Regions from separate parts of the Homo sapiens genome. Here regions 1, 2, 3 and 5 are each linked to region 4. The links are contacts of gene promoters, found by promoter capture Hi-C in blood cells and fetal thymus (Javierre and others, 2016). All regions are on one chromosome and are shown on one strand. The core of a region is centred on a gene start or on the middle of the fragment in contact, and the rest is flanking DNA. Distances in the headings are between cores, read along the strand shown.

Region 1 (2,700 bases), core at 91-2,590, 460 kb after region 4:
GAGGGCAGGGGATTGAAATTTTATTCTTTCTTCCTCCTTCCTTGAAAATTCCGATCACTAAAAGTAAAAACATACACACACATACTCACTCACACACTCACTCACCCATGCACATACCATCTTCAACGCCTGGGCTATTCCATCTTTGCCAAAAAGAACCAAGATGTTATCTGTGAGGTATGTCTGCATGAGCTTAGACAAGACCAAACCTACATCCTCTCTCCTTGCAAAAAAAAAAAAATGCATTTACTTTTCTTCCAAATCCAACAAAAATAAATTTAAAATGTTAGAAATAGTTACTGAGCTTCTAGAAATTGTTATAGTACCGAAAGTGAGGAAATTAATTGTTACCTGGCCCAGGCACTTCACTTTCGCCTAAGCCCCAAATAAAATGGATTTTTCCTCTTCTAGTGATCTATTGATGTATAATGAGCCATCTACAACTTAGTAGCTTAAACCATAGCACCAATCCTTTTTTATTAGCTCTCATAGTTCTGGTGGCTGACTGAGCTCAGAAGGGCCACTCACGGTCCTTTTTGTAGATGCGGTCAGGCTAGGCTGGAGTCACCTGAAGGCTTCTGGACTGACAGGGATGGTGGTGGATGGTGGTTGACGTTGTCTGTTGGTGGGATCTCAGCTGGTGCTGTTGGCTGGAACACCTCTATATGGTCTCTCCATGTGGCCTGAGCTACCCCACAGCATGGTGTCTGGGTTCCAAATGGGAGTGTCCCAATAAGACCAGGAGGAAGCTGCATTGCCTTTCATAACCTGGCTTCAGAAGTCACAGAATGTCACTTCTGCCATAGTTGCAGGTCCACCCAGATTCAAGGATGGACAATAAACCCCACCTCTTTTTGGGAGGAGTGAGAAGACCATTTGGGATAGGAGATCTTATTGCAGTCATCTTGGCTAATGCATTTTCTCCATGTTTTTAAGTATGGAGGTGGTATTCTTTTTAAAAATTATCGTCCTCGTTATCACCATTGCACCAATGTACATGGGTCATGGGCTCCCCAGGCCAGCCCTACCCTTTGCAAACCTGTTCAGACTTCCAGCTCACTAACTTCTCCCCCTCCAGCCCAGGCCCCAGGGCATTCAACCCAGATCTCAGAGGCCTGTGCCCTCCTGCCTTGGGTCCCACAGTGCAGGCCTCCAATATTGTCACTGTTGTCCTCATTCCACTCTTCCACTTTGATCATCACAGTGAAAATTGCTTACAGTCTGCAGAGCTGGGTAGCAATCTCAGCTCTGCATTTACTCCTTAGCATCCTTCATTGAATGGAGATGAAAATCTCTTCCCCTCAGGACCTCCAGGTAGGTGAAATGAGTGGTGGCAAATCACTCAGCATATGGAGAGTGTCTAATGTTGATGGCCAAACTGGCCAATCTCCCTCCCACTTTGTAAAGCAGACCAGGCAGCCTTTATTATTATCATCACATGCATTTTATGCATGAGGCGAATAGGGTTTGCGGGTCTGCCAGACTTCCCGCCAGGCTTGTCCTAGGTGTTCTTTCTACCCAGTCAGCAGCCTGGCTGCTCTGCTCCGTCCCACGGGCTGGGCATTGTGCTGGGAGCTCCATGCACAACCAGAGAGCTGCCTGTCTTCTGCGTGTTGAGCACACACCATGCCAGTTTCCCTAACCCGTAGAAAAGGCTCAATACAAGCTGGGTGTGGTGGCTCATGCCTGTAATCCCAGCACTTTGGGAGGCCGAGGTGGGCGGATTACCTGAGTTTAGGAGTTTGAGACCAACCTGGCCAATATGGTGAAACTCCATCTCTACTAAAAATACAAAAATTAGCCGGGCATGGTGGCGCATGCCTGTAATCCCAGAAAGCTGAGGCAGGAGAATCGCTTGAACCCAGGAAGCAGAAGTTGCAGTGAGCTGAGATTGCATCATTGCACTCCAGCCTGGGTGACAGAGTAAGACTCTGTCTCAAAAAAAAAAAAAAAAAAAAAGAAAGAAAAAGAAAAGAAAGGCTTGATTCAAGTGTGTTGGATGGAAGAGCTAAGTGGTTTGAGGCAAAGATGCCTCTTGGGGAGCCCTTGGGCTCTGTAAACAGCTGTTGGAGAGATCTTTCCAGAACTGGCTCCCCTAGTAGCTTTGGGCTTTGATTCACAGGCCACAATTGCTATATACCCAGGTCTTTTCAGGAACATGTCTGTATCCAGGCAGGTCCATGCAGAAACTATAATCTAGTTTTAGTCCTAAGGATGCTAGTAACCTTTGTGTGGCCTGCCACACTGAATCAGCTAGAGATTCCTAGGCCTCAAGTCTCCTCAGATCCTGATTCAGCAGGGGTGTGTGTGGACATCTGCATGTCAAATCTCCCAGGGAATGCTGGGCCAGCCAGGCTAGTGACCCCCAGAAACCCTGCCCCGTGTAGGAGCACAGCAGCCTGGTAGAGTGATTATAACTGTGGGCTCAGGTGCTGATGGCCAGGGTTTATATCCTGGGTCCTGCAGTTTTAGTAACTGTGGCACCTTGGCTTGTTACTTAGACACCCTGTGCCTCAGTTTCCCCATCTTTAAAATGGAGATAATGGTGGTGGGGAAATCAGGATGCTGTGACAAGGATTAAATGAGTTGCTGCACCAGAACCTCAGCTCACACTTTACAAAGCTGGGTGGATGGGTGGGGTGCCTAGTTTTTGGCTACCTCTTGTATGTTCCTTGAGCCTTGGCTCTAACGAAGCCAGAG
Region 2 (2,700 bases), core at 79-2,578, 440 kb after region 4:
GTACCCACTTATAAATAGCACTGATCTGGCTGTATACTGATCCATCACTAACCTGTTTTCTAGGACCCAGCGTATGTAGCATTTGTATTGCAGTTTCCCTGGCTTACTTGTGTTTTGCACTGATGAATTTTGACAGGGTAATTGCCACTTTACTTGTGCAATACTGCTGTAAATAACTGCAGATTTTTAAACAATCTTTTATGTTAATTTTATAAAAATAAAACTTTCAACTAGTTTTGGTGAGCGTTTGATTTGTTTGCACAAAATGTCAGAGAAACAGCTGAAATTATATATGAACATGTACACGCCCACACATCTGCTATTATCAGTCATAAAATGTAGCTGTGTGTAGCTCATATATTTTTGCTTGAAGACGAATCCGTGCAGTACACTTAAAAGTAAACGAGTCTTTAAAGTTTTGATGTGGCTGGTGCGAAAAGTATTCTGCCTGCACAGTCAGATATGACTCAGCACTTGGGTGGGGAGTTGTGGGGGCAGGGAAGTGTACTAGGAGCCGGCTCTGTACTGTGTTGATGAGTGATATGGCAGGTGCCCAGCCATCTTACCCCATCAACCCCATAATAGAAAGGGCTTGTCTGCAGCACCTGCTCAGGGTCAAAGGGGTCACCCAAACGTGCCTAGACCCTGTGTGTGAAATGATGACCAGGAACCGCCAAGTTCCCAGCTCCCGTCATGTAGGGTGGATGGGAATTGCCTTAGGAATGAGTGAAAGAAATTAAAGCCTGGTTTGGGGATACAGGTGATAAAATCCTAATAAGTATTTAATTTGGCACTTTCACCCTAAGTGCTGGGAAAGTGAAAGACAGACTCAGCTTTCTTTTAGACTAACAATCTGTTAATGCTTTCAATCGGGTGAGTAATACATGAATATGGTCTTGTAAATTTATTTCAAATTGTATTTGTTTCAAATCAAATTGTTCTGTCTTAATCCTACCTCCTCACTGAGGTAGGAGTTTGCATTCTCCTGGACTCTTAATCTGCAGTGTGTGTGTGTGTGTGTGTTGTGTGTACTCACACAGCAGTTTTGCTTTTCTGTAAGTGCCATAGCTCTGTATATGGTTCTGACTTAGCAATAGGTCACATATCTTTCCATAGCGACTCCACTTCATGCTAACTACTGCAGCAAGTGCCAGAGCACAGGCATAGAATTTGCTCATAGGTATCCCACTCTTGTGGTACAGGGAGGTGGAAGATCAGCCTCAACAGACTCTGGAAGACACTGTCAAAGTGGCAGCTCCACTTCACACGGGCCCTGGCAGCACATAAGAACACCCACTTACCCCCAGTGCTGTCAGACATGAGTGAGCTGGTGTCTGCCTGCTGGGTGAGGAGCAAGTGGTGCTCATTTGAATTTTTCTATCAATGCAGTAGGATGATCTTTTCAGGCACTGGTGGCATTTGCCTTTTTTTCTGAAAGTTTTTGCTAATTTTTGGTTGAGTATTTTTTCTATTGATGATTAGCTCTTTATACATTCTGGACAAAAAAATCTCTTATATGTTGGAAATACTTTTCCTTCAATCTGTTGCCTTTTTTTCCCAACATTTTATTGTGAAAACTTCCAAACATTCAGAAAAGTCAAAAGAGTTTTACAGAGAATACCCATGCACTCACTACCTAGCTTCTACCTTTAACTTTTACTACCTTTGCATTATCATGTATTCATTTATTAATCCGGCTTATTTTTTGGTGCATTTCAAAACAAGTTGTCACCAATACTCTTATCCCCAAATACTTCAGCATCATTTAGAGTTCATCAATTTTTTATAATTTTTTTCTCCAAAGATAAAATTTACATAAAGTAAAACATACAAATCCTATGTGTGCATTTGCTAAATTTTGACCAAGGATACAGCTGTCTCTCAAACCCTTGTCAAGATAAAGAATACTACCGTAACTCCCAGAAAGTTATCTGCTTTCCAGGTAATCCCTCCTCTCCTGCCCCCATTGGTAACCTCTGTTCTGAGATTCTTTTCCGTCATAAATTAGTCTTACCTCTTCCTGAACTTCATATTAATGGAACCATAACAGTATATGGTCTTTTGTGTCGTGTCTGGTTTCTTTTGCTCAGAATATGAGATCCATGTTACAATTATCAGTAATTTCTTCCTTTTTATTACTAAGTAGTAGTCTATTGTGTGAACAAACCATGCTTTGTCTATTGTCTTATTAATGAACACCTGAGTTCTTACCAGTTTGGGGCTATGATGAATAAATCTGCTATGAATACTCTCATACAAAGCATATGAGTCTCTTTTGTGAACATATGTTTTTATTCTGCAGCATGTTTTTTAATTGCTTGTGGTGTATTTTATGTAGAAGTTGTCATCTTAGGTGGTGGGTGCCTATAGTCCCAGCTACTCGGGAGGCTGAGGCAGGAGAATGGCGTGAACCCCGGGGGGCGAAGCCTGCAGCGAGCCAAGATCGCGCCACTGCACTCCAGCCTGGGCGACAGAGTGAGACTCCGTCTCAAAAAAAAAAAAAAAAAAAAAAAAAAAGAAGTCAGATTTGTCAGTCTGTCAGTCTTGCTTAGGTTTCTGTATTTTGTATCTCGTTTAAGACAACTTATCTATGACAAAGTTTTAAATATATTTTCTTATGTTTTATTCATATAACCAGTACAGTTTGGGGTTTTTTTTTCACCTTAATCCACCTGGAATTTATTTTTTTAGTGATCCACA
Region 3 (2,700 bases), core at 10-2,509, 360 kb after region 4:
CCAAAGGGCACTTAATCTGGCCAAGGAACTACTGTCCAGACTTTGGTAATTTCATAAAAGAGCTGAAATTAACCTTAAATATCTTTCATAAATAAGCTGCTCAGCCATACTGTGACACTTTCTGGGAAGACTGAATAGTTGAGGCTCCTCATAATGATGCTGTTCCAAGGATACGCCAGAACCCCAAGAAAGGAATGAGGAGACCACAGGGTCTGCATGACTGTGAACCACATGACTGTGAACCACATGACTTCTGAGTCTGATAAGCCATAGAAGGCAAATTGTCTTCTAGTGGGAAGATCATTTCTATTTGACTCAGAATAAGAGGGTTTTGTTTTTGCTTGGTTTGGTTTTGAGGCTATCTTACTTCTAATGTGTCATTATCTTTTAGAGATACACAGTGAGATATTTGTGGGTGAAATGATATGACTGAGGTCTGCTTTGCAGTGATACAGAGAAGGGGAATAGGTGGGAGCAGAGTAAAAACAGGATTCGCGATGAGTGGATATGGGTGATGGAGACATGAGGCCCATACTATGCTCTCTATTTTTGCGTGATTTTGAAATTATTGAATATCGAGAGTTACGTGAATAAACAGTTAAATAAAAAGTGACTTCTTCCTACAGGGAAACTCATTTATTGTTGCTTGGTGCCCATGATGTGATGCAGAAGCTCTGTGTGTAGGTTTCAGAAACATAATAGGAAAAAACATACTGAAACAAAATGTAAATGAGGAATGCTATTTTTTGTGAAAGTTTACCCAAACCATGCTCAATGGAAAATATCAAGATATTATTATTCAGGATGTACCTTTACAGTATCTTTCACGTGGACTTTGCTGTATGGACTTTGCTCCTAAATAACGTGGGCTAGAGGAGAACCAGGTAGGTTACATATGAAATAAGGTTGGTTGTGAGTTAAAATTTCTTGAGTTTTGGGGAAGGATATATGGGAGTTCGTTATGCTATTTGTTCTACTTTTGTATATGCTTTAAATTTTTCATAGAATTCTTTTAAAAAATAAAACCTATACTGCACATCCAAAACATGGCCATTTTACATTAGGAAAGTATTAACTTTTACGATTTTATGAAATGTAATATTATGTTATTTCTCTTTCGCCTCCTTAGATTTTGTGTTTTCTAATATATTGCTATTTGTCCATTTCTTTTGTTTTCCCCCACCCCTTAGTTTTGTCTGTTGTATGGAACCAAGCTGGTGTTTCAGGAGCGGGCCTGGTATTTAGAACATAAATACTTGACTCCCATGGCCAGCACGAGGATCAGGAATCAGGTAAGGTCCCTGGGGTACAGAAAAACACTTTGTACATCAGCCCTGGTCTCCTTGCTTTCTTAGAAAACAGTCCTGCCAATCTTCTATCAGTTTCCACTCATGGATTTTTATGCCTCTGGGACTTCACATGTATATTTTCATTACCTATCATGATCGTATTACACTTAAGAGTTTAGGTGACAAGGGAGTGACTCACTGTACATGAGTTTTCTAACATGAAAAGGAGAGGAAGGTATCAAAATGTTTTCCTTGTCTTGGCCAAAAAAAAAAAAAAAAAAGTGTTAGTGATTTCTTTTCTGCTTCTTACCAAAGCCTATTAATACATTGTTTATATTAAGAAGAAAGACCCGGGGTATTTTTATGTCAGTGGTAGCCATGGGGAATTCAATACAATAGCTACGGAGCACCTGAAAAAGAAGGTGAGGCCAGTATTCACCACGAAAATGCTACTGCAAAGAAAAAGAATGTGAAACAGCATACTCATCAGTAAAACACATTTCTGATTACATCCTTTCTGCAGGAGAGATGCTGAAACACAAACAGGTATAAGACTCAGTCTCCACATGAAGGGAGCTCATATCCAAGGACACAAAACCACTTTAAAAACATAAATACTGGCCAGGTGCAGTGGCTCATGCCTGTAATCCCAGCACTATGGGAGGCTGAGGCGGGCAGATCTCCTGAGCTCAGGAGTTCGACACCATCTTGGGCAACATGGTGAAACCCTGTCTACTAAAATACAAAAAAATTAGCTGGGCGTGGTGGCATGTGGCTGTAGTCCCAGCTACTCGGGAGGCTGAGGCACGAGAATCGCTTGAGCCCTGGAGTTGGAGGTTGCAGTGAGCAGAGATTGCGCCACTGTACTCCAGTTTGGACTACAGAGTGAGACTCCATCTCAAAACAAAACAAAACAACAACAGCAAAAAACAACAAAACAAAACACAAATACTCTCACAGGGCATGGAGGTTTTCGAATGAACTTGGCCATAAGAATAAATTCAGAGTTGACAGAACAGACGTCTTAGGAATAAATGCCATTCTTATGCTAGACCTTGAAGAGTAGAAAATTAAGAGATGGTGGCCCAATTGAGAGGGGAAAATGCAGTTGAAACTTCAGACAGGGTTGATAAAGTGAGGACGATCATAGACATGGAGTACTTAGACATATTAATAAACAATAAAGACTTTACCTGTCTAATGGAAAACCTGGAGAAGTCGTCAGGAACCAGACTACAGTGGACCCTGGAGAACCTTGAAGAACATTTTTCCTTTTCAGGAAAACGGAGGTTACAGAGAAAAGTATATGTAATGATGCTACAGTAATGTATTTCTGTATAACAAATGACTCCAAACTTACGACTTAAAACAACCACCACTTATTATTTGTCTTGGTCCATTTTTTGCTGCT
Region 4 (2,700 bases), core at 2-2,501:
GCAGCTGCACAGGTGTGGTAGACAGAGGAATGACTCGCCAAAGGTGCTCATGTTTTAATCCCTAGTACCGGAGAGTGTGTTTCTGATATGGCAAAATGGACATTGCTGGTGTGATTAAAGTATGGATCTTGTGGTGGGAAGATTATTCCCATTGACCATGGATTATTCCCATGGGTCCCATGTAAACAAGTCCAAGGGAGGCAAGAAGGTCAAAGTCAGTAGAAGATGGAACGATGAAAGCAGAGCTTGAAGTGATGCATTTTGAAGACAGACGAAGGGGCCAGGAGCTAAGAAATGCAGGCAGCCTCTAGGAGCTAGTAAAGACAAGGAAATGCATTTTTCCCTGGAGCTGTGAGAAGGAACCCAGCTCTGCCAACACCTTGATTTTAACCCTGTAAGTCCTATTTTGGACTTCTGACTTCCAGAAATGTAAGAGAATAAATTGGTGCTATCTTAAGCCACTCACTTTGTGGGAATTTGTTACTGGAAACGAATACAGATGGCATCCACTAACCTCACGACAGCAGACCACACCATCATCTCCCCAGCAAAGTAGCCTCTGGAAGGGAACGGCTAACATTTCCTTGAGTATTTAAAAGGAGAATCAACAAGGTATATGAGAATTAGGGAGCAGAAAGGAAGGAACATTTTCCACTTAGGTTATAACTCATTTTCCTCCAGCCACAACAAAAAAAGGAGTGTCCTGGGAAATGAGTATCGTGTTCCGGTCGATCACCTCGTCATGAATGCAGCTTCCAGCTACCCTGGACTGCAGTGCTGTAGACCTGGGACGCCTTTAGATTACCGTGATATTAGAGTTCACAGTAATGCCCAGTGCGGGGAAGAGGTGAGATACAGCTGAGGAGGGGCCAGAGCTGGAGCCAGGCTATCTTGGGTCGTGGGGGTCAGGCAAAGTGGCTGGCCGGGAGATCTGCTGAGTGGGTCAGCCGGTCAGTCCTGAGCAGCCGGGCCTCTGGTGCCCAGGTCCACGTGACTGGCACCCTTTCTAGGGGTCTAGTACTTGTTTCTTACGGCTCACAAATCTTGAGGGACAGTTGATAACTGGAGGGTAGAGTTTTCGCTTCCTCGGAAGGGCAAGGGGAGGCCACCGTAGAAGCGCCCGCTCGCGCCGGACCTCCCGCCCGGGAAGCCAGGGCAGGGCGGGGCCGGGGAGGGAGGGGAGAGGAAGGTGAGGAGGGAGGAGACGGGCCGGGAGGGGTGGAGAGGGAGAGGGCGTGCGCCTGGGGCCTCACCTGCTGGGAGCTGGAGGAGGCGCGGAGCGAAGCCGGCCCTGCCAGCCACGCGGAGAAGCAGAGGCAGGTGAGCGCGATGCAGCCGGCGCCGGGTCTGGGGCTCGGGGACTCCTCCCTGCACCGCTACCTGGACGGCGACTTCTGGAGCCTCAAGAACGAGCTGCGCGGACTCCTCGGCGGCGCCCGCTCTTCCGGCAAAGGTACCGCGCTGCGGCCGTCGCCCCTGCCCGCGCCCCCGAAGCCGCCGAGCGTGTCCCCTCGGTCCCCGGAGCGTCGCTGCGGACAACGCCCTGGCGAGGGCGAGGTGGGGTGTGCGCCGCGCCTGAGAGGCGGGTCCCTGCCTCGCCGCAGGTGACGGGCTCCCCTCCCCAGGTGTGTGGGCGCAGCCGGCCGCCGCCGACCTCTTCGGCCCCCTGAGAGGTGCCCTCTCCTCCCGAGCTCCCTCCCCCACGAAGAGTCGGGTGCAGGGCTGGGCCCCGCGGTGACAGGCGCGGTGTCTACGAAGACCGTGTGGCTGGAAGATCGGCCTTGCTGGTTTGTTGAACCTGTTTCTTGAGTCCCCGCCCCGCGATGTCCCACCCTTGGTGGGGAGAAGGGGACAGAAAACCGCGATGGGATGGGCGCACAGGGATGGAGTGGCCCTGTCCAGGGCGTGTCTGGGCGTCGGGGTGGGACAGGCTTACAGGACCCCCTCGGAGTGCAGGTGTGCGGAATGGGCAGCTTCAGCGGGGCGGTTTGGTTATAAGAAGAACTCAGGTCCTCGATGTCATCCGATGCCAGGACAGCCCTGAGAAGCAGGCAGAGGGTTGAGTGCTTGAGCTGCACTGGAGATAGAGAGATGGTTCAGTCACCGGACAGTCAGGACCAGAACTCGGCATTCGTGTCTCCTGTGGGCTCTCTTTCTCATACCCATTTCAAGCAGTCTGAAAAGCCCAGTTGGAGGCATGCTTTGGAGTTCTAGCTTAAGAAAGGCCCTATTAAAAATGTCAGTATGTGCCCGTGGAGGATTAATTGGTTAGCCATGCCCACTTAGCCCTCGTTTAATTTATTTTGCGGAAATGAGAGGGAAGGAGATGGCTTGAGTGAACGTCAGGCTGTCCTTGGAGAATCTGGGGTTCCTGCACTGAGGTTACCTAGTGGGGAGTTGGGGGCGTTTGAAAGTTGAAAAGTGAGAAGTGTGGGATGGTGGGTATATCCATCAGTGTCTCGCCGACTTCTCTTTCCCTCTCTCTCATACATAGTTCTTTAAGTTATGGTTCTCAAAGTGTGGTACAGGGAGCCCTGGGGGGACCCAAGAGCATTTCAGGCGGTTCATGAGTACAAACTGTTTTTATAGTAATACAAAAAAAGTTATTAGCTTTTTCACTCTCATTCTCTCACTAATGTACAGTGGCAGTTTCCAGAGACCACATGATGTGTAGTATTCCAGCAGAAAAAATATAGAAGC
Region 5 (2,700 bases), core at 104-2,603, 410 kb after region 4:
TTTCAGCACAGAATTCTTTACATCCTTAACTTGCACTTGTGCTAATGAAGACTCTACCTCCTGTTCTTTTCCTTCTGTGACAAAACAAGTTATCTGTCTGGGAAGACATGGCACAATTTATTTATACAACATTTTTATGGCTTGCAGATGACTCCGCTGGATCCTCCCTCAGAATTGCCCTTCATAGGGAAGTTCAGTGGCCACTCAAGTGGTTAGCAAAATCAAGGTGAAAAGTTTTTCTTTTTATTCAAAATGGGATAAAAAGAAGCAGCTGCCTTTTGTGACTTTTAAGTGAGAAGCTTTCATTATGTCTTAGCCCTACAGTGTGTTATCAATAATCATATCTGTGTTAAATTGTACTTCACTTTGTATATCACCATTGTAAGTTTTAACCGTATACATTATAGGCTTTTTCCATTTTTATTTTAAAAACTGTTTAAGGTGTAGCTTTTTAAGGATTCTGTTTTTGCTCTTATTTTTTACCTGTGTCTTGGTCTTTCTTATCATGGAGGTGAAAACAGTAATACTGAAGACCTTAATGTGAGTTTAGGAGAAAAGATGTTAATCACCAGTTTCCTGCTACTGGTTTTAAATTTCATAGAGGAAGCCACACTTATTTTGTCATCAGAAATTCTTATATTTTTTGTTTAAATTCTCATCTCCCTCCCCTCTTGCCCAGATCTGGTTTTTTGGCTAGAAACAACTTACAGTAACTTCAAATTAAGCATTTTAATTCTAAGGAATGGTCTTAAGTGAACCAATGTATATAGAGTTTTATCTTTACTTTTAAAAGGTCTCTAAAGCATTTTTCTTCTTATGGGGAAATAAATTGGGTAGTTTACCTCGTCAGTAGAAAAAATATAGGGATTTGTGTCTTTGCACTAAAGTAATTTCAGGGTTGGTCTTCTTTTAGCTGTCCTTAGTTTTGGGATTATTTTTGTTTTTCAGAATAAAATGGCACAGGTCAGATACTTTTAATCCCCTGAAAGTAATCTAAAGCTATAGAAATGGAGCTGTGGCTGTCGCAGAGACTTACTAGGATGAAGGTTGGTGTAGAAAAACTAAGGAGTAGTAGCAGTATTCAGTGTCCCGTGTCTTTCCCCAGAAGAACACTGGCAGAACACCAGGGGCAGAACACTGTCACACACTATTCAGAGCAGCGATTTCAGGAGCACACCAAGGCGGGCCAGGTGGTCAAGGGGCTTCCCAGGGGATGTCATACAAGGCACATGGAAAGAACTGGTTTAGGACCAGGTTTGGCACAGGTTCACTGACAAAAAGTGGGGTGATGATTGAGAGGGATCATAGATTTCCTTTATAGTCCCAGGGGCAGAATCAAGATTGAAGTGGGGCTTAGAAGGGAACATTTCAATTCCCTACGAGGAATAGCATCGTAGCACTCAGTGTTCTTCAGCGAGGACAGCAGTGCCTTAGGAAATGTGCATCTGTCCCAGGAAGCGGGCACACAGGCTGGGAGTCTTAGAGGGCTCCTGCTCAGGTCTCCCACATGGTGCAAGATGCTGGGCTTCTGTCGTGACTCAGCTGGGGATGTCCTTGAGTATAGGGATCACAGCTCAGTCTGGGTTTGCTCCTGGCTTGTCCCCAGCTGCTAGTAAATATGTTAATATGTGTGTCGGGGACAGCTCTGGTGACATGGATAATTAGTTTTTCTGATGTTGAATGAGAAATGAGTAAAAAGGCATAACACATTAATCTTAATGTCTTTAGACTTGTATTTTTATTATAAGGGACAGATAATAGTGAATGAGGGAAAAAATCTCATGAACACTAGTTTCCAGACTTCTGTCCAACTTCACAGCCTTGGTTTACTGGCAGTTTCCAAATGGTCAGGCTGGAAATTGATGAAAGCTGTTTCTTTTGACCATGGCTCCATAAAGGCAATGGGCAGTGCACGTTGAAAGAGTAAGTATGAAAACACTGGCCTCATCTCATAAACTTTATTATTGATAGTATTTTATCCTAGCAGCTGTTTTTGAAGCACTGTCTTGAATTCATGTGACTGCCCAGGCTTTTGACACAAATGTGTTCCAGGGAGACAGATTGAGGAATCTTTGAGTACTAATGCTGTCATCGTATTTCTCATAGCTTTTGTTTTCATCCAGTGGCTCAGCGGAATTGATTGGGATTGCCAAAAAATAAAATGATACAAGTGAGAAATAGACCTGGAGGGAGGTGTGTGTGTGTGTTGTTGGTTACTTGCTTATTTTATTTCTGAGAACCGTCAGAGTTGAGGATTTCAAACATGATTCTGATAGCATTTACCGCAAACGCTGATGGCAGTTGCTCTCCTTTGCCTTATAGCTAACTGGGACTAGAAACAGCTCCATCACCCAGGTGAGTTTTATAAGGAAACATAAGGGGGCTGGTCTGTTGCTTCCCTCCTCTTGTAAGCTTTGGATAACTCTGAATTTAGAAAGATATTTCTGAAGATATTTAAAGAAGGAGACTTACAGAGTTGAATAAACATCCTGGAATTTTTCTTTCTCTAAATGAATGTCAGCTTCAGAGAGCCCACCTGCAGACAGAGGCAGTGACTCCCCTAAACATTTTCGGAGTATCTCTTGGAATTGGTTTAAAGCTGGTTTCAGAGTCCACAAAGAAATGGCCCTTTACAGGATCCTTTATTGCTTTTGGTGGTTAAAGCAGAATCTCTCTGGAGAGTAAAGGTAGACAGCCCTG

Evidence for each region. The method cuts DNA at HindIII sites, captures the fragments that hold promoters and counts their contacts. A CHiCAGO score of 5 or more calls a contact.
Region 1: a contact is called between a fragment that was not itself captured here and the fragment with the promoter of ACOXL in region 4, in 1 of 17 cell types (monocytes). The highest score is 5.1, in monocytes.
Region 2: a contact is called between a fragment that was not itself captured here and the fragment with the promoter of ACOXL in region 4, in 1 of 17 cell types (monocytes). The highest score is 5.4, in monocytes.
Region 3: a contact is called between a fragment that was not itself captured here and the fragment with the promoter of ACOXL in region 4, in 1 of 17 cell types (naive CD8 T cells). The highest score is 5.7, in naive CD8 T cells.
Region 5: a contact is called between a fragment that was not itself captured here and the fragment with the promoter of ACOXL in region 4, in 1 of 17 cell types (neutrophils). The highest score is 5.4, in neutrophils.

Annotation. Positions count from the first base shown.
Region 1 is chr2:111,188,280-111,190,979 of GRCh38, forward strand. No RefSeq gene overlaps it. Among named protein-coding and RNA genes, the nearest start is that of BCL2L11, 69 kb to the left of the region's middle. The HindIII fragment of the contact is 6,613 bases long and covers 1-2,700 here.
Region 2 is chr2:111,168,210-111,170,909 of GRCh38, forward strand. It overlaps BCL2L11 (BCL2 like 11), which reads left to right. Exons shown (of 4, transcript NM_138621.5): 4 at 1-235. Among named protein-coding and RNA genes, the nearest start is that of BCL2L11, 49 kb to the left of the region's middle. RefSeq lists an enhancer at 584-693. The HindIII fragment of the contact is 3,263 bases long and covers 1-2,700 here.
Region 3 is chr2:111,091,675-111,094,374 of GRCh38, forward strand. ACOXL (acyl-CoA oxidase like) reads left to right here. Exons shown (of 18, transcript NM_001142807.4): 17 at 1,191-1,292. Among named protein-coding and RNA genes, the nearest start is that of ACOXL-AS1, 23 kb to the right of the region's middle. The HindIII fragment of the contact is 5,723 bases long and covers 1-2,700 here.
Region 4 is chr2:110,731,322-110,734,021 of GRCh38, forward strand. It overlaps ACOXL (acyl-CoA oxidase like), which reads left to right and starts at 1,252. Exons shown (of 18, transcript NM_001142807.4): 1 at 1,252-1,453. It overlaps LOC124906064 (a long non-coding RNA gene), which reads right to left and starts at 1,104. Exons shown (of 3, transcript XR_007087181.1): 1 at 1,033-1,104; 2 at 515-583; 3 at 40-314. The HindIII fragment of the contact is 3,688 bases long and covers 1-2,700 here.
Region 5 is chr2:111,142,166-111,144,865 of GRCh38, forward strand. All of the region lies in intron 2 of BCL2L11 (BCL2 like 11), which reads left to right. Among named protein-coding and RNA genes, the nearest start is that of BCL2L11, 23 kb to the left of the region's middle. The HindIII fragment of the contact is 2,113 bases long and covers 298-2,410 here.